Linked DNA regions of Homo sapiens: regions 1, 3 and 4 are each linked to region 2. Evidence: promoter capture Hi-C in 16 types of primary human blood cells and fetal thymus (Javierre and others, 2016). All regions are on one chromosome and are shown on one strand. The core of a region is centred on a gene start or on the middle of the fragment in contact, and the rest is flanking DNA. Distances in the headings are between cores, read along the strand shown. Region 1 has its middle 88 kb from the start of USP12-AS1. Region 2 holds the start of RASL11A (RAS like family 11 member A). Region 3 overlaps USP12 (ubiquitin specific peptidase 12). Region 4 has its middle 100 kb from the start of USP12-AS1.

What was found. Contacts are between HindIII fragments. The CHiCAGO score rates a contact against its expected background, and 5 or more counts as called.
Region 1: a fragment that was not itself captured here is called in contact with the fragment with the promoter of RASL11A in region 2 in 1 of 17 cell types (megakaryocytes); the score reaches 6.7 in megakaryocytes.
Region 3: a contact is called between a fragment that was not itself captured here and the fragment with the promoter of RASL11A in region 2, in 1 of 17 cell types (erythroblasts). The highest score is 5.5, in erythroblasts.
Region 4: a contact is called between a fragment that was not itself captured here and the fragment with the promoter of RASL11A in region 2, in 7 of 17 cell types (erythroblasts, megakaryocytes, endothelial precursors and 4 more). The highest score is 8.9, in erythroblasts.

What each region holds. Positions count from the first base shown.
Region 1 is chr13:27,035,396-27,040,190 of GRCh38, forward strand. No RefSeq gene overlaps it. Among named protein-coding and RNA genes, the nearest start is that of USP12-AS1, 88 kb to the right of the region's middle. RefSeq lists an enhancer at 402-1,601. The HindIII fragment of the contact is 2,949 bases long and covers 1,730-4,678 here.
Region 2 is chr13:27,269,003-27,273,649 of GRCh38, forward strand. RASL11A (RAS like family 11 member A) reads left to right here and starts at 1,828. Exons shown (of 4, transcript NM_206827.2): 1 at 1,828-2,066; 2 at 2,482-2,538; 3 at 2,637-2,716; 4 at 4,025-4,647. The coding sequence starts at 1,943. The coding sequence ends at 4,492. RefSeq lists an enhancer at 1,290-1,790 and silencers at 1,739-1,958, 1,999-2,228. The HindIII fragment of the contact is 11,897 bases long and covers 1-4,647 here.
Region 3 is chr13:27,078,287-27,083,033 of GRCh38, forward strand. The region is part of intron 6 of USP12 (ubiquitin specific peptidase 12); the gene reads right to left. Among named protein-coding and RNA genes, the nearest start is that of USP12-AS1, 45 kb to the right of the region's middle. The HindIII fragment of the contact is 2,796 bases long and covers 1,549-4,344 here.
Region 4 is chr13:27,018,491-27,022,777 of GRCh38, forward strand. No RefSeq gene overlaps it. Among named protein-coding and RNA genes, the nearest start is that of USP12-AS1, 100 kb to the right of the region's middle. The HindIII fragment of the contact is 823 bases long and covers 1,340-2,162 here.

The DNA.
Region 1 (4,795 bases), core at 1,954-4,453, 230 kb before region 2:
ATAGAGAGAAACACAGGGGAAGCTGTGGGATTTGATAGTGGGAGCCCAAGGACATTCTTGTCTGGCCAATTGTCATTGTCCCTGTGTCCCACATGAACCAGGACAGCTCCCACACTGGCGCCACTTCCCAGCAGTGCGATGTCAGGCAAGCAAGCAATTCAGCCTCTCTCTGCCTCTGTTTCTCCAGCTCAAATATGGAGCTAATGATACCAACCTCAGCGGGTCCTTGTGAGGATTAGTTGAAATGCTGAATTTAAGAATGTTTGCTACTGCATCTAGTAATTATTATCGTTAGCACTATTATTAGTTTAATTATCCTTCCTTGTTAAGAATCAATTATAAACCATTCTTTCAGTCTTCCTGTTTTTTTTTTCTTTTGTAGAACCAAAAAAGGCATGGAAAATCTTTCCCGGTTGTCATCGCCTCAGCCTGGAGGGTCAGCTAGTGCCTGTCCATCCCTGCAGGGCAGCTGCCTCTCACTAGGAGGAGAATGCTGGGTTTTGCACCTGGGAAGTCTCAGAAGGTGGGACATTCGTTGGCTAAGTAGAAAGCTGAGCAGATCTCAGCTCTCTCTCTGTTGAGTGCCCAAGCACACATAGAACTACACACGTGGTATCTCAGCAGTAAGGCCTGACAGCAAGGCAAGGGGGGACAGGCGGGAGGTGAGTCATGATCCTGCGTGTGCGTTGGTGCTCATTCTGACCCGCGCACCGAGATGGAAGCTGTGACACAGGAGGCTGTGTCAGCGCCATCCCAGCTCTGCAAGTACATCCAAATTCCAGGTTCCCGCCTCACCTCTCTGGTCTACCTAAGAGTTCACAGCGCAGTTGCAGTGCTCTGGGTTCCTGCCTGCTTCATGGTACCAGCCCATGCCCTTCTGTGATCCACACGCGTCCGGGACCTCATGCCCAGCCCCCAAGACATCCAGTGCAGAGGCACAGCCAATGAATCACCCTGCTGTCATACCTGCCTTCCCATTTTCAAAGATCCTTTTCTAAAAATACTATCAATGAATGCACTGTGGCATGGAAACAGAAGACAGCCGACTTAAAAACTGAATCTCCGGGCTTGGAACTTCCCCTAAATCATATTCTGGCAAAACATCTACAAAGCCCAAACACATTCTTGACCTTTGAAGAAAATGTCAGTGTGGAGCAAAGGCCTGTGTTCTGACCCCACCCAGCTACAAGAATTTCCTCCCTCCTGCCCGCACATCTTCAAAGAGTCCCTGAGATTCCAGGCTGGTTGCTACTTCCCCAGGGGAGCATTGCATGCATCTTTTCCATGTCCTGGAGGTCCAGAGGGGCTTTATAAAGTGGCCCCAACCCAGCAGCATCTGGGGCTGTGCTCCTGTTCTGTGCTCTAGGGGAAATGGAAGCAGGAGTCAGATTTGTCTTGGAGGATTCCTGTTCATCAGCAGGAGTTCTGAGTTACATGCCGAAAAGCAGACTACATTTTTTGCATTGCAGAGTGCTTCTGAAAAACACCATTCTAGAAAGGGGGATCATACATCCCAGTTTGCCTAAGACAGTTCTGGTTTACAGCTGTTATTCCTGTATACGTATTAATAGCACCTCTTTTACTCTCAAAAGCATCCCACTTTGGCAATAAAATTCCACTTCCCAGTCCTAGTCTTCCCATGACTGGATGGTGGCTGTTAAAGCCTTGGCCTCTAGAAGCGCCCCGGCAACTGGCACTTAGCTTATCTCTGAATTGTCTGCCGGAGTGAAGCTTAATTAAGATCTTGTTAGTTTGGGGAGAAAGAATCAAGGACATTTGGCAGCACATCCCTCACTTTATGTCACCCCTAAGTGAGATCCCCAGCCAGCTTCAGGGGGGCATTTTCCTGTCACCAGCCTTCTTGGTTCTCAGGAGCAGAGTTATCCTGTAGCAAGAAATGTTCACATCAGAGGTTTCCGACTTGCACAGAGAAGAGTCCGAGGAAGTGGGGAGACCTCCCTTGCTCACCCTCCCCTACTAACTGGCCAAAGCCTTCCTGGCCACCGCAGGACCTCAGAGTGCATCTCTGGCCTTTCAAACACAGTGTTATCTACTGTCCATAAACAGCGACCAAGAAACTCAAAAAGAAGAACCAGAACAGCCCAATGCCTGCACAGAGCAGTGCTCAATTAATACTTGTTGACTGATTGACTAATACATACATGAATGAAAGAACAACAAAATTGACAAATATCTGGCCCTCTGTGTGAGCTGAGAGGAAGCACATCATTCTAACACAGCACCTGAGAGCATTCTCACACCCAGAGCTCAAGGAAAATCAACACGCAAGGAAAAAATTCAGGGAGGGAGGCACCAGCCACCAACTCCCCTGGGGTGGCGGGTGAGCATGTGGAGAGGCCACAGCTGTGCACAGCTGGGTCTCTGTTGCTCAGCTTCTGGGAACCGGCAGGTGCACGTGGCTGTCCTCAAGGTTTTGCTCCACCTCCTGTGCCTCATTCCAGTTCCCTTGAGGGAGAGAACTGAGGACACTTCTGTATCCCTGAGCCTGGAGGAATTATAATAAGATGCCATCTCCGAAGAGAAGGGAGAGGGGCCAAGACCTCACTGGGGAGCAACCTTGCTCCTCTCTCCAACCTTCTATGGCTCACACTTACCAACTTTGCTCTTCTGTGGTCTCTTTTTCCCAAGATCCTGTTACAAATACAACATAGGCTTAAAAGCAAAAGGCATTAGCAGAGATCATTTGGGTCACTTCTTAATGATACGAAGATACCATTTGGTGAGTTTTCTACACGGGGCTCTTGCTCAGTGTTGGCAGTGCACAGTGCTCTTAGGGACATTTTTGAATGTAAGCCAAAAGTGTTTTTGAATATGCTCAATTCACCAAAAGATATAATTTTATGTATTAATAACATAGCTTCAAAATATATAAAGCAAAAAAATGACAAAACTAAAATGATAAATAGACAAACCCATGAAGATTTGGACAACCCAATTTATCCCTTTGGAAAAGAGTGGCATTATGTTTAAAATTATGGATATGGAAATCCAGAACTTCCAATTCTAGGTGCAGACTATAGAGAAACTTGAGCACGTGTGCACAGTGACTCACCCTCAGAAATATTCATCACAGCCTTGTCCACTGCTAACAACCCATTCCACAGCCAATTTTCCATTTACAGGGAAGTGAATAAGTAGTTGTGGCAGATTCATACAAGAAAATGCTATACCGCAATGAAAACTCAGTGAACTTAAGCCACACATATAGATGCATCTCAAAAAGCAATGTTGAAGGAAAGAAGCAAGATAAAAGCACCCAGGCCGGGCACGGTGGCTCACGCCTGTAATCCCAACACTTTGGGAGGCCAAGGTGGGTGGATTATTTGAGGTCAGGAGTTCGAGATCAGCCTGGCCAACATGGTGAAACCCCACCTCTACTAAAAATACAAAAATTAGCCAGGCATGGTGGCGGGCGTCTATAATCCCAGCTTCTCAGGAGTCTGAGGCAGGAGAATTGCTTGAACCCAGGAGGTGGACGTTATAATGAGCCAAGATTGCGCCACTGCACTCCAGCCTGGGAGACAGAGTGAGACTCCATCTCAAAAAAAAAAAAAAAAAAAAAAAAAAAAAAAGAATCCATAGAGTATGATTCCGTTTCTATAGAGCTGAAAAACAGCCAAAGCTAAAGTGCATTGTTTAAGAATACATACATAAGCGATCAGACTATAAAGGAAAGAAAAGAGATGACCATCCTAAAAGCTAGGAGGATGATGACTCTGCAAGGAGGAAGGGTTTGGCCGGGGAGACACACCCAGGGGCTTCCAGGGTGCAAGTTCTAGTCTAGTTCCTGACCTAAGGAGTATTACCCAGGTGTCCACATCATAATTCTTCATTCAACTGGACACACACTTTTACGCAAGTTTATGTATGTGAGGCGTATTTACCAATAAAAACAATGTTATCAAAAATGTGGGAAAGGCTGGGGCCAACGGGGTCGAGTGCCCCTGGCTGGGACTGTCCTGCCCAGAGAAGCTCTGCCTCTCTTCTCTCCCTCCACCTGCTGAGAGGCAAGGGAGCCTCCGGTCTCCCCATCTATGGGGGTCTCCCCTACCCCCAGGTGGTCTAGGTAGCAGCTGGTCCAGACCTGCCATGTCTCAGGTCCTGGGGTGAAGGCTCCCAGCCCCTGGCTCTTCCTGGTGGGCAGCTTCTTCCCAGATAGGCTTTTCCTCCCACGGAAAGATGTATGCGTGGGCTTGGGGGAACAGCCACGTGACTTGGTCCTGGGCCCCCAGCCTGCCCAATAAAGAGGCATTCTCAACACGGTCCACATTAGCTTATCAGGATCCAAAGCAGACATTTGCCTTGACCTCCATGTCTTGAGGACATCAAGGGGAGAGAGGGCTGTAACAGGGCAAGATTCAGACACTCAGGCTCTTCAACCCTGTGGCATTGTCTGTTCCCAAAGCCCAGTCCCAAAGGTGGAGGCAAACAGGGCAAAATATTAGAGCCAGGCCTTTGGGGTAAAATCCCCCGACCATGCTCCTTCCATTCCTCAGCCAGAACTATTTGGTCCCTAAAAGTGAGCTGGAGCTGAGGCATTTCCCGTCCACCCGGGGGTCCCAGCCATGTTCCTAGGCTTCCAGGAAACACTTTTTCTCCAGATAGATTGCTGACACCTGTACATAAAATAGACTCCCATAAACAGGCATTTTCCAAAAGCTTTTAAACCGCAGAGCGTTTACTTAAAGCCTGAGAAAATAAGCCTTAGGCTCATTTTCCTCCAACAAGGAGCTCAGCTGCTGCATTCTCCAACAGTGACTGCCAAAATTGGGCA
Region 2 (4,647 bases), core at 578-3,077:
TGGAGACACATTCATTAGCATGGTCAATTACAAAAATGGACCCCATTCTCCATCACTCTCTGCTTCCTTGCCCTTTCACACGTGACTTTTCTGCTGTTTCCACAAAGGGGCGGAGTGTATTTCCCTACTCCTTGAATATGGGCTGGCCCCATGACTTGCTTTGGCCAACAGAATGCAGCAGAAGGGATGGGTTCCTTCTCAAGGCCTAGGTCTCAAGAGGCCTTATCCATTTCCACCCACTCTCTTGGAACTCTGCTCAGCTACCATGAAGGCAGGCCCTGGCCAACGTGCTGAATGAGAAGAGACATGTAACTCAGTCACTACCCTCCCTCATCACAGCCAACAGCTGCCAGACATGAGTAAGGCTATCCAAGGGCAGCCAGCCCCCACTTCCAGAACCTGGAAGCTCCCTGCAGATGCATCAAAGGGCTCAACAACTGTAAGTGATTGTTGTTCTAAGCCATCTAGTTTGGTGTGGCTTGTCATGCAGCAAAAACTGGTACAACCAGGGTAGAGAAAGGTATGAATTAGGGTGGGGCTGTCTAATAGGCGATTAGGCAAGTGAGGCTGGAACACAGGAGGTCAGAGGCATGAAGGTCTTCTAACTGTTCAAGGTTAAAGTCCTGAGGCTTCTGCTGTGCTATTTCTGGTGGGCTCCAGAAATCCAAGAACCAGTCTATAGCTCTGTGTCCTGTTCCTCACACTGCCCCCCACCCCACCCTAGACCCCACCATGCACCTAGAAGTAAATATTTGGATACTGAAGCAAATGCATGACTCAAGCACATAGGATAGTATTAATGATGGACACTTAGTGCAGGGCCAGGGCCCCCAGCCAGTGGAGTGCTCATGAGTGTTCAGGAATGAGCCAGTGCAACCCCTGCCTGCAGAGGAGGGGCTGGGCATGGATACTGAGATGCTAACCATCACTGCCCCTAAGGGGACTTCATCTATCCCTAGCAAGGTCACAGTGACTGCAGTTGCCTCCACTGATACTAATTCAGAGCTCTTGCCCCCCGCCCCCCGCCCTTTTCCCATATTAATGTTACCCCTTAGCATCTTTTCTTTTCTTTCTTTTTTTTTTTTTTTTGAGACGGAGTTTCGCTCTTGTGGTCCAGGCTGGAGTGCAGTGGTGCCATCTCGGCTCACTGCAACCTCCGCCTCCCTAGTTCAAGCGATTCTGCTGCCTCAGCCTCCCGAGTAGTTGGGATTACAGGCGCCCACCACCACGCCCCGCTAATTTTTGTATTTTTAGTAGAGACAGCGTTTCGCCATGTTGGCCAGGCTGGTCTTGAACTCCTGACCGCAGATGATCTTGCCCACCTGGGCCTCCCAAAGTGCTGGGATTACAGGCGTAAGCCACCGCGCCCAGCCCCTTAGCACCTTTTAAAAATAAAAAGGGCAGCGTTTTACAGCAATCTGTCCCATTGTTGCAGAAACATCCAACTGATTGCACTTTTTCTTCTTCTCTCGTCAACTCGTAACTCCTATCTCAAGTTCACCCACAGGTCTAGTGACTCCGGCTGGCTGCTGCGGGGCGAGGAGACTCGCAGAATGCCTGACTAGAGGCCACTCGCGCGCTCTGGACGGTGGCCGTATCTCCAGGGTCTGAGCCCCGGAGCCGCAGTCCTGCCGCAGAGCGCCTGGAGCCGCGAGCAGCTAGCAGCCCGGCGAAGCGCACAGCCTCGGCGATAGTCAGCTCCGCGGCCTCTGCTCCCGCCCCTCCCGGCCGCTCCGGGAAGGGGCGGAGACGAGGAGGAGCTGGGACGGCCGCCGCGCTCCCGGGCGCACCAAGCCCTTTAAAAGCCGCGGGCCTTGACAGTTCTGCAGGCAGCCGCCGCGGTCCCGGACCTCTAGTCCCGCACTCCCAGCTGGCGAGCCGGCTCCGGGTGCGGCGAGGCCCAGCCCTCTCGGATTGCGCGCCGGACCCCGGGACGCGCTCCATGCGGCCGCTCAGCATGTCCGGGCACTTTCTGCTCGCACCCATCCCCGAGTCCTCCTCGGACTACCTACTGCCCAAGGACATCAAACTGGCGGTGCTGGGCGCCGGCCGCGTGGGCAAGAGCGGTGAGTGCGGCGGGGACCCCCGGGCGGCTTCGCTCCCCGGCTCCGGCCGCGACCACTGGGGGCGCTGCGGAGAGAGGGCGCCTCGGCCGAAGCAGAGGGCGCGGGTGCAGGTAGAATCGGGCTGCTTTCGCGCTGGGTGGGTCCCGGTCCGTCCCGGCCTGCTTCCCTGGCGTTTCCTGGTGCATCTACTCCTGGGATCTCGGCGGGATTGGCGCCTGTTCGGGGATGGGGTGCGGGAGAGGTGTCCCGCCAGTCGTACTCGCGGCCAAGCCCGCGGCACCACGGCTTTGCGGAGCCTCTGGAAGCGAGCAGTGCCCACGGTTCTGCACCCTTCACTCCCCCCAGTTTGTCCGAGGTGCCTGGGTTTGACAGGCTTGTTCTACTCCTTCGGTTGATTTTCCTATTTCCTTTTCAGCAATGATCGTGCGCTTCCTGACCAAGAGATTCATTGGAGACTATGAACCGAATACAGGTGAGAATACTTTCACGCTCCCTGCTTTTATGCTTGCGTGTTTCTTTTTACGGATGGGAGTTTGAGAATTAAAAAGCAAACTCTACTTCATTCTCCAGGCAAGCTGTATTCACGGCTGGTCTATGTCGAGGGGGACCAGCTCTCCCTGCAGATCCAGGATACTCCCGGGGGCGTCCAGGTAAGAACCGCCAGGGGCAAACAGCTCACCCCCACCCGTGAGACCACCCCAGTGGGCACAGCACGTAGGGCGCCCATGCTGGGCGCAGGGGTCTGAGCAAGGCATCTAAACCGACCTGTGCGTTTAGAGGGAGGAATGGGCTGTCCACAGGTGGGGCCAGTGGTTGGGGTGTTAGAAACTCTCTAAGGGGGAGGCATGGTTAGAAGCAGCCTCCTCTTGTTAAGCACCTGACTTAACTTCACTTTGCAACCCTGGTGGGCCATCACTACTTAAGCAGGTCTCACCATTTCTTCCGGAGGTAGCCATGGAACCATTAACAAAGAAAAAAACGTTTAAAACAAAACAAAACAAAACAAAAAAAGAGGTAGGATTCTGATGGGAGAGACTCTTCTCCCCTGGCAAGCTCTGCTTTTTTTGAGACGGAGTTTCACTCTTGCCCAGGCTGGAGTGCAGTGGCTGGATCTCAGCTCACTGCAACTTCCGCCTCCTAGGTTCCAGCGATTCTCCTCGATTCTCCTGCTTCAGTCTCCCGAGTAGCTGGGACTACAGGCACCCGCCGGAACTCCCAGCTATTTATCTATTTATTTATTTATTAGTAGAGATGGGGTTTCACTATGTTGGCCAGGCTGGTCTCGAACTCCTGACCTCAAGTGATCCGCCCACCTCGGCCTCCCAAAGTGGTGGGATTATAGGCATGAGCCACAGCGCCCGGCCCAAGCACTGCTGAACTGCTGCTGTTAATGGCTGTTCCCTCAAGTCAGTAATTGCAATCAGATAACCCCTTGGCAGAGGGTCTAGAATGTAACTTGTTTATTAACCAGTTACTAATTGCTACTCCGTTCTCCAGAGGAAAGGTCTTGTGGAAGAACCCTAAGAAAGGAATTTCTTTCTGTAACATTCTTAAGAAGTGCATGTTAAAAATGTTTTTATGAGTTTGGGAATAGATATTTATCTTGGCTTATTTTCAAAGTTTTGTTTATTATGAGTTAGTGTTTCCTAAAACTTGAGCCATTCTGGTTTGAGGTCATTCTTCAGTCAGCCATGGTTCACCAGAGACTGCCTGACAAGCAAGGGGTTTAAAAATAATGCAGGGATAACAGCTAATAAAGTAACTCAGGCAGGGAGTTTGCCTGGGAATCTGTTCTTTCCATATCAAAAGCCTGCTTCTGCAGAAGCTGGGTGGAAACTGAAAACTGTATTTAGAGATTTCTTTTTCAAGTGTTTCTTCAAGGGTTGCCTTGATGTTGTTTTGAGTTTATCTCCCACTGAGGGTTTCCTTGACTGGATCTCATTTTGATGTTTTCTCAGATCCAAGACAGCCTCCCCCAGGTCGTCGATTCCCTGTCCAAATGCGTGCAGTGGGCCGAGGGTTTTCTGCTGGTCTATTCCATCACAGACTATGACAGCTACTTGTCCATCCGACCCCTTTATCAGCACATCCGGAAGGTCCACCCTGACTCTAAAGCCCCTGTCATCATCGTGGGCAACAAGGGGGACCTTTTGCATGCCCGGCAGGTGCAGACACAGGACGGTATTCAGCTAGCCAATGAGCTGGGCAGCCTGTTCCTTGAAATTTCCACTAGCGAAAACTACGAAGATGTCTGTGATGTGTTTCAGCATCTCTGCAAAGAAGTGAGCAAGATGCACGGCCTCAGTGGGGAAAGAAGAAGAGCCTCCATCATCCCTCGGCCCCGCTCTCCCAACATGCAGGACCTGAAGAGACGCTTCAAGCAGGCTCTGTCTCCCAAAGTCAAAGCCCCCTCTGCACTGGGGTGAACTATCTCAGACAGATGCCTCTCCTTTTTAATACGCATTTGTGCAGCTAAAAGACTGGGCTTCTCGCTTTTTAATCACACATTCAGAGTTTATTTTTATAAAAAAATTGATTTTCAAGTACATGTGTATTTCTGAAAATTCAAACAGTGATTGCC
Region 3 (4,747 bases), core at 1,697-4,196, 190 kb before region 2:
CCATTTACATTGTATTAGGTACCAAAGTACATAGGAGGATGTGCATAGGTCATATGCAAATGCTATGCCATTTTATATCAGGGACTTGAGCAACCATGCATTTTGCTCTATGTGAGGGTCCTGGAACCAACTGATACGGAGCATAACTGTATGCATTTTCTTGCTTTTACATCTTTAAAATGACAAACTGCATCCATGTTGTATTCTAACATAACAGGGGGTTGCCTTTCTTGATAATGTCTAGTTATAATTTAAAACTATTCAAAAAAGAAAGAAGGATGGGAAAAGACATACCATGTAAACACTAATCCTAAGTAAACTGGCTATACTAATGTCAGACAAAGCATACAAGATAAGGAGTCTTACCAGAAATAAAGAATACTTCATAATAATGAAGGTCAATTAACTAAGAGAACATAACAATCTTAAAAGCATGTGCTCCAAAATTTGAAAGAATTATAGAAATAGACAAGTGCATAATCAGAATTGGAATCTTTAACAGACTTCTCTCACTAACAAAAAAAATCAGTAAGGATAGGAAAATATGAACACCCTAACTATGGACTTAATTGACATTTATGGAATACTCAACCTCAAACTGCACTATACACATTCTTCTCAAGTTCAACCGAAACATTCACTAATGTACTGGACAATAAAGAAGTCTCGATAAATTTCAAAGATGAAATCAGAGTATGTCCTCTGATAAAAAAAAAAACTAGAAAATCCCCCCAGATATGGAAACTAAGCAACACATTTCCAAATAAGCCATAGGACAAACAGAACATCACAAGGGAAATTAGAATATATTTTTAAATGGATGATTATTATGAGACTACAACATCCTCTCATTTTAGGTCCTGTTCCCTAGAGCAGACCCTGAGACAGAAAGTCCCAGGCCTGTGATTTAATGTCGTGCTCCCTGTGTGGGGCGGGGGGGAGTGGGGGGAGAGGGAAGGAAACCAGGTAAGGATTCAATCTCAAGCAAAATCCCAGGAAGAGTGGCTTCAGCTCAGTGTCAGAGAACCCCAGAGTCTAAATTTCACCTCAGATTTCTCTTGACCACAAGGTAGCTGGGGTTTTATATGCTCTTTAGCACCTGTCAGTGACTGGTCAAAGACTTGGAATTTGAACCAAACTCCAGAAACTCCCTTCTCCAGTAGCCCAAGGGGGAGTCCTTCCCAGAGCCATCAGGTGCTAAGTATTCCAAAGGACTAGGGGAGGAGCTGGAGGAAGGACTGACATTGCCTGCAACCACCCTCAACCGGAATACCAACTACCCAGCCGCAGGCAAGCAACACCACTATGGGATGGAATGCAGACCCTGGAATCCAGTGGAATCTGAACTGTTTTTCTCAATAGTCAGAAACGTTTTTTAAAGTAAATTTCCTATTTTTATAAATTGTGTGAGCCAGAGTTCTTTAGATGGAATCTGATCCAGAGGACACTATTTGCAAGCTCTGCCACAGATGAATGCAATACCCCAGCCACAGGCACTTAAGAACTTACCAACATCCTGTCAGCAGAGAAGTCCTGACCACACAGAAAAGCTTAATAATTGTACAGACATTCAGTTCCAAGGACTGAATTCCATGCCCTTTTAAAATGTACCATCAACAAGGATTAATTGTGACACATTACAATGAGGGGGTCAGGGCAAATAGAATGCTTTATGTGAGAAAGACACTAAGGTGACTCAGTGAGATATAAGCAATGAGAGGACATTTAGGCAGCAGAACCTGAACTCCAGCATGTGTTAAAATGGGGGATGGGTCACAGGCACAAATGAGGCTCATGACATACCCCAACATGTATATAAAACATAGTACTGAGTGATGGACATCTGGAGATCCAGGTAGGCATGCAGGCAGGGAGGCAGGAGGCATCAACTTCTCAACAGATGGAAGGACCCACCCAACTCAGATTCCAGAAGACTTGCATGGGGGTGTGTGTGCCAACAGGTGGTTGCAGATGCTGACTACAGCAAAGCAAATCCCTATTGCTGATATGATTTTGACATGATACTACACAAGTTACCATTACTGGAACTGGCTACAGGGGAATAAGATATGGATCTAGTTAGGAAAATGAAGCAAAAGGTAGGGCCTTCATCTCACAAACAGGAAGCCATTCAATCATTAAATCTAGGGCAGATACTCAGAGATGGACTGTGGCCATGACAATGTGATGCTGAGTCACCTGGCCATGCATGGATCTTCTTCAATACCTGGTAAGAACAGGACTGGTCCCAGAAGTGGGGTCAGGCACACACGGAATAAAGGGAGAGTAAAGAGACTTGAGAGAGGAAAGATGAGAAGGCAAGGAGCTTAGCTCCCAGCGTACTGTCACTAATCATTGGATCCCACAGAGTAGTGACAGAAATACAGGCATATCTTGGACACGCAGCAAGTTCAGTTCCAGGCCACCGCAATAAAGTGAGGACCGCAATAAAGTGAAGACCGCAATAAAGCAAGTCATACACATTTTTGGTTTCCCAGTGCATATAAAGGTTATGCTTATACTATACTGTAGTGTATTATGTAACAGCATTATGTCTGAAAAAAGTCCATATCTTAATTTAAAAATAGTTTATTGCTTAAAAAATGATCATCTGAGCCTTCAGTGAATCATAATCTTTCTGCTGGTGGAGGGTCTTGCCTCAAGGATGATGACTGCTGACTGATCAGGATGGTGGTTGCTGAAGGTCGGGGTGGCTGAGGCAATTTTTTTTTTTTTTTTTTTTTTGAGACGGAGTCTTGCTCTGTCGCCCAGGCTGGAGTGCAGTGGCGCGATCTTGGCTCACTGCAAGATCCAGGCTGAGGCAATTTCTCAAAATAAGACAAGAATGTCTGCCACATCAACTGGCTTTTCCTTTCACAGATTTCTCTGTAGCATGTGATGCTGTTTGACAGCATTTTATCCACAGAACTTCTTTCAAAATTGAGTCAATCCTCTCAAACCCTGACGCTGCTATCAACTAAGGTTATGTAATATTCTAAATCCTTTGTTGCCATTTCAACAATGTTCACAGCATGTTAACCAGGAGTAGATTCCATCTCAACAAACCACATTCTTTGATCTTCCATAAGAAGCAACTTCTCATTCATTCAAGTTTGATCATGAGATTGCAGCAATTCAGTCAGATCGTCAGGATCCTCTTCTAATTCTTGTTCTCTTGCTGTTTCCACCACATCTACAGTGACTTCCTCCACTGAAGTTCGAATCCCTCAAAGTCATCAATGAGGGTTGGAATGAACTTCTTCCAAACTGTTTTTAATGTTAATATTTTAACCTCCTCCCATGAATCACAAATATTCTAATGGCACCCAGAATGGTGAATCCTTTCCAGAGGGGTTTCAATTTACTTTGCTCAGATCCATCAGAGGAATCTCAATCTATGGCAGCTGTAGACTTAAAAAATATTAAATAATAACAATTGAAAGTCAAAATAACTCATTGATTCATGGGCTGCAGAATGGATCTTATGTTAGCAGGCATGAAAACAACATTAATCTCTTTGTGCGTCTCCATCAGAGCTCTTGGGTGATCACATGTATTGTCAATAAGCAGTAATATTTTGAAAGAAATCTTTGTTTCTGAGTGATAGGTCTCAACAGTGAGCTTAAAATATTCAGTAAATTATGCTATAAACAGGTGTGCTGTCATCCAGGCTTTGTTTCTTTTCTACAGCACAGGCAGGGTAGATTCAGCGTAATTCTTAAGAACTCAAGGATTTTAGGGATGGTAAATGAATACTGGCTTCAACTTAAAAGTCACCAGCTGCATTAACCGCTAACCAGAGAATCAGCCTGTCCTTTGAAGCTGGGCGCTCACTTCTCTCTAGCTATGACAGTCCTAAACACCCTCTTTTTCCAATAGAAGACTGTTTCCTCTATATTGAAAATCTGTTGTTTAGTGTAGCCACCATCAGCAACTATTTTAGCTAGACAATCTAGATAACTTACTGCTGCTTCACCTTGTACTTTTATCTCATGGAGACAGCTTCTTTCCTTAAAACCTCATGAACCCACCCCTGCTAGCTTCAAAATTTTCTTCTGCAGCTTCCTTACCTCTCTCAGCCTTCATAGAACTGAAGACAGGCCCTGGTTTTAGATTAGGCTTTGGCTTAAGGGAATGTTGTGGCTAGTTTGATCTTCTAACCAGGCCACTCAAACTTCTCCATTTGGCAATAAGGCTGTTTTGCTTTCTTATCATTTGTGGGTTCACTAGAGTAGCTCTTTTAATTCTCTTCAAATACTTTTTCTTTGCACTCCTAACTTGGCTGTTTGGTGCAAGAGGCCTAGCTTTCAGCCTATCTTGGCTTTCAACGTGCCCTATTCATTAAGCTTAATCATTTCTAGCTTTTCACTTAAAGTGAGAGACATGTAAATATTTCTTTTCACTTGAACCCTTAGAAGCCATTGTAAGGTTATTAATTGGCCTAATTTCAATATTGTTGTGTCTTAGGGAATAAAGAGGCCTGAGAGAGAGGTAGGAGGGGGAAAACGTCAGGTGGGTGGAGCAGTCAGAACGCACAACATTTAAGTTCATCATCTTTTTCTTTTTGAGACAGAGTTTCACTCTTGTTGCCCAGGCTGGAGTGCAATGGCGTGATCTCGGCTCACCGCAACCTCCGCCTCCCAGGTTCAAGTGATGCTCCTGCCTCAGCCTCCCGAGTTGCTGGGATTATAGGCATGCGCCACCACGTCCAGCTAATTTTGTATTTTTAGTAGAGATGGGGTTTCAC
Region 4 (4,287 bases), core at 501-3,000, 250 kb before region 2:
CCTGTTTCATAATCTGTAAAAATCACAAGAAAACCAACATTGGGTTGTTGGGGAGATTAAACGAAGTAAAGCTCTTCTCCCAGTGCCTGTTTCAAAGTGAACTCCGGGTGAATGGCAGCTACAGGGTAGTACTATTGCCCTTGTCATGCTGTGACCTCTGCTGCAGTGGTGAGGTTTGGGGAGCGTGTGGCATTCACCGGGTGAGTTGGGAACACCATTGCATGAGCAGAAGTTGGCAAACTACTAGGTGAAACTTAGCTGTGGCTTGTTTTGTAAATAAAGTTTTCCTGGAACACAGCCAGGCCCATTGGTTTATGTACGGTCGGTCGATGGCTGCTTTTGCACCAAACAGCAGTGGAGTGGTTGTGACAGAGGCCGTATGGCCCGCAAAGCCTAAAATATTTACTATCTGTCCCTTTACTGAAAATATCTGCCAACCCTGCAAATACAGTGGCCAGACCAGGCTTCACCTGAAACACGAAGGAGACCAGGGTGGTCAGCACTCCGCAGACCATTCCAAAGAAGCACCGGTTTCCCTAGGTCCTGGAAAATTCCCCTCCCCCACGATCTCCTCCAGGATTCCTCTGGCTGCCTGCGGTGCAGCAGGGCCTTTCTTTCTTTTTCTTTTCTTTTCTCCTTCTTTCTTCTTCCTTCCTTCCTTCCTTCCTTCTTTCTTTCTTTCTTTCTTTTTCTTTCTTTCTTTCATTCTTCCTTTCTTTCTTTCTTTTTTGACAGAGTTCTGCTCTTGTTGCCCAGGCTGGAGAGCAATGGTGCAATCTTGGCTCACCACAACCCCTGCCTCCTGGATTAAAGCGATTCTCCTGCCTCAGCCTCCTGAGTAGCTGGGATTACAGGCATGCACCACCACGCCTGGCTAATTTTTTGTATTTTTTTTAGTAGAGATGGGGTTTCTCCATGTTGGTCAGGCTGGTCTCGACCCCCTGACCCCAGGTGATCTGCCCACCTTGGCCTCCCAAAGTGCTGGGATTACAGGCGTGAGCCACCATGTCCGGCCAGCAGGGCCTTCCTTTCTAACAGACTCTGGCTCAAGACTCTCTTCCTCACCAAGGTTTTCCAAGCACCCCTCAAATCCCACTACCTTCCACCTGTCCCATTCCCCAAATTCTGGAGGCACCACTTCCACCGGCACACCCAGTATCTCAAAAATACCTACAAACCTGAAAGCACAGAAGAAAACCTTCCCAGGTAAGCAGTCATGTTGCACCTGTATACACCTGTGCACAGCTGAAGGCTGAGGGAAGCGTGAGAATGTGGGTCAATCTGCCAAGCAGGAAACAACCAGAAAGCTACTATTGACAGAGTGTGGCTGTCCGGGCCAAGCTTTTCTAACACAAAAGCCATCAAGCATAGCAGCAGTAAGGAAAAAAAGGCAGAGAGAAAAGAGGAAAGTTGGCCAGCCACGGTGGTTCATGCTTGTAATTCCAGCAGTTTGGGAGGCCAAGGCGGGCAGATCACCTGAGGTCAGGAGTTCGAGACCAGCCTGGCCAACATGGTGAAACCCCGTCCGTCTCTACTAAAAATACAAAAAAATTAGCAGGGCATGGTGGCAGGTGCCTGTAATCCCAGCTACTTGGGAGGCTGAGGCAGGAGAATCGCTCGTACCCGGGAGGCGGAGGTTGCAGTGAGCTGAGACTATGCCATAGCAAAACTCCATAAAAAAAAGAAAGAAAGAAAAGAGGAAAGCAATAATTAAGCATGTCACGGAGAGAGGTGCCTGGCAGGTGTGGCCAGCAAGGTCAGACGCAATGGGAGCAGCAGTCGGGGGCAGAGAGCAGGGCTGTGACAGTGCTGAGCGCGCTGAGTGAGGCCAGAGTGGAGGGAACTGATGCAAGGGAAAGTGAGGTGGCGGAGAGGAAGGAGGGCAGCCACGGCTCAGTGCAGGGCAAGCAGCCCTCCCGAGGCCTGAAGGGATTCATGGAGAAGATGTGAGGGCACGAGGCAAAGTTGCTTTTTGTATTCTAGAATAATTCAAAGGAAATCTGAAATCTGAAATCAGTTTTAGAAAGGTGTTCATAAAAATGTTTAATGTCATCTAAAACAGGGGTCCCAGCCCCAGGGCCACAGACTGGGTGGAGCATGGCCTGTTAGGAACCGGGCTACCCAGAAAGACGTGAGGGGCCTGTGAGCTAGAGAGCTAGGGAAGCTTCTTCTGTATTTACAGCGGCTCCCCATCGCTTGCATCACTGCCTGAACTCCGCCTCCTGTCAGATCAGCCACATCATTAGATTCTCACAGGAGCGTGAACCCTATTGTGGACTACACATGTGAGGGATCTAGGTTGCAAGGGATCTAGGTGTGCGCTCCTTATGAGAATCTAATGCCCGATGATCTGAGGTGGAACAGTTTCATCCCAAAACCGTCTCCCACCCCTGTTCCCCAGACCCTGGAAAAAATGTCTTTCATGAAACCGGTCCCTGCTTCCAAAAAGGTTGGGGACTGCTGATCTAAAGTGAATCCAGCCGGGTGCAGTGGCTCAGGCTTATAATCCCAGCTACTAGGGAGGCTGAGGCAGGAGAATCGCTTGAACCCAGGGGGTGGAGGTTTCAGTGAGCAAATATCACGCCACTGCACTCCAGCCTGGGTGACAGAGTGAGACTCCGTCTAAAACAAAAAACAAAAACAAAAACAAAAAACAAAATTAAACTCAATCCAGGACAGGCATTTCCTCTCCTGGGAATGATTTTTCCTTTCCTGGATCTGCCTGATGACGCTTGCGTTAAGCTCCCTCTGGAAACTTCCCTGACTCTTCTAGCGAGTGGAGTTTAACTCCATTCTAGCATGGACCACACTAGTTACAATGATGCGTTTTTGTGTTTTTCTCCTTAACTAGATCAATGCTCCCTAGCTGGAAACCAAGGGGCTGCATCCTACTCCTCATGGCCTCGCTAGGTAAGACTGTGTTGGCTGCGTGACCTGTGATGAAGCTGAGGCTCAGAGAGGTGCTTAGGTTCCCAAGAGCACCCTGCTGGGAACTAAAGGGGCCTGGACGCAAACCCAGGATGATCCCAGGACTTGAGCTCATTCCACTCCTTTGTGCTGCTACCAAAATATGTTTAAAGAAAGTGCTTAGTATATTAAATGCTGGTGAATAAATAAATGAAGGGATGGGTGGGTGAGTGGATAAAGCCATGTCTTTGTAAAGCCCTTCTTTGTTCATTGTCATCGGGCTGTATGGTTTAGTGGAAGGGACCCCACCCATTCCACCATCAATTATCTAACTAAATTTATTAATATGGCCTCTGGGCCTCAGTGCCTTCATCTTTGAGAGGAGCAATAACACCGACCTCACAGGTCAGGGGTGAAGGTCAAGTGTGATAATTTAATTGAAAGCATTCTGTAAATTGTAAGGCCAGGTGAGGTGGCTCACTCCCGTAATCCCAACACTTTGCGGGGCCGAGGTGAGCGGATCACTTGAAGTCAGGAGTTTGAGACCAGCCTGGCCAACATGGTGAAACCCCATCTCTACTAATAATACAAAAATTAGCCAGGCATGGTGGCGGGCACCTGTAATCCCAGCTACTCGGGAGGCTGAGGCAGGAGAATCGCTTGAACCTGGGAGGCAGAGGTTGCAGTGAGCCGAGATCGCAGCACTGCGCTCCAGCCTGGGTGACAGAGTGAGACTCTGTCTCAAAAAAATAAAATAAAATAATAAAATAAAATAAAATAAATAAGAACATGATCTATAAATCGTAAACTATAAAGTGCAAAATAAATACACAGTCATATTAAGGCCAATGATTATTGTGAATTCTTTTCATGACATCTGAGCCATTCATCCATTTACTCATTCTTAAACGTCTATTAGGCTTTTGGCATTAGGGACACAAGAGTGTAGTTTCTGCCCTCAAGGAGCTCGCACTCTGATGAGAGAGACAGGAAAGCTAACAGGCAATTATAACACAGCTGGCATGTGCTAACAGGAATCAGATAAGAATGAGTTCTTGCATTTTAGATGTGTGGAAACCTAAGTTCTCCCTTTTGCCAACCATAGTTCCCGGCTTTGTACTCAGTAGGTGCTCTACCCAATGGCTCTGGTCACCTCAGGCCAGGCTAAAGGTTCAGGGCATTTGGACATCTAGGAGCTGTGAGGAGGCAGCCCCCGGCCAGCTCTACAGATAGCACCTGCAGTGGTGAGTCAGTAGCTGCCACGTAGGCCTGGCCTGGCTCTGTGCACAGTGCCATGGGCTCTGCCTGTCACAGCAGCAGTGCTTAGGGAGGATTCATTTTGTCAGCCGGAGACGCAGTTGGTGAGGGGTCTGCACGGGA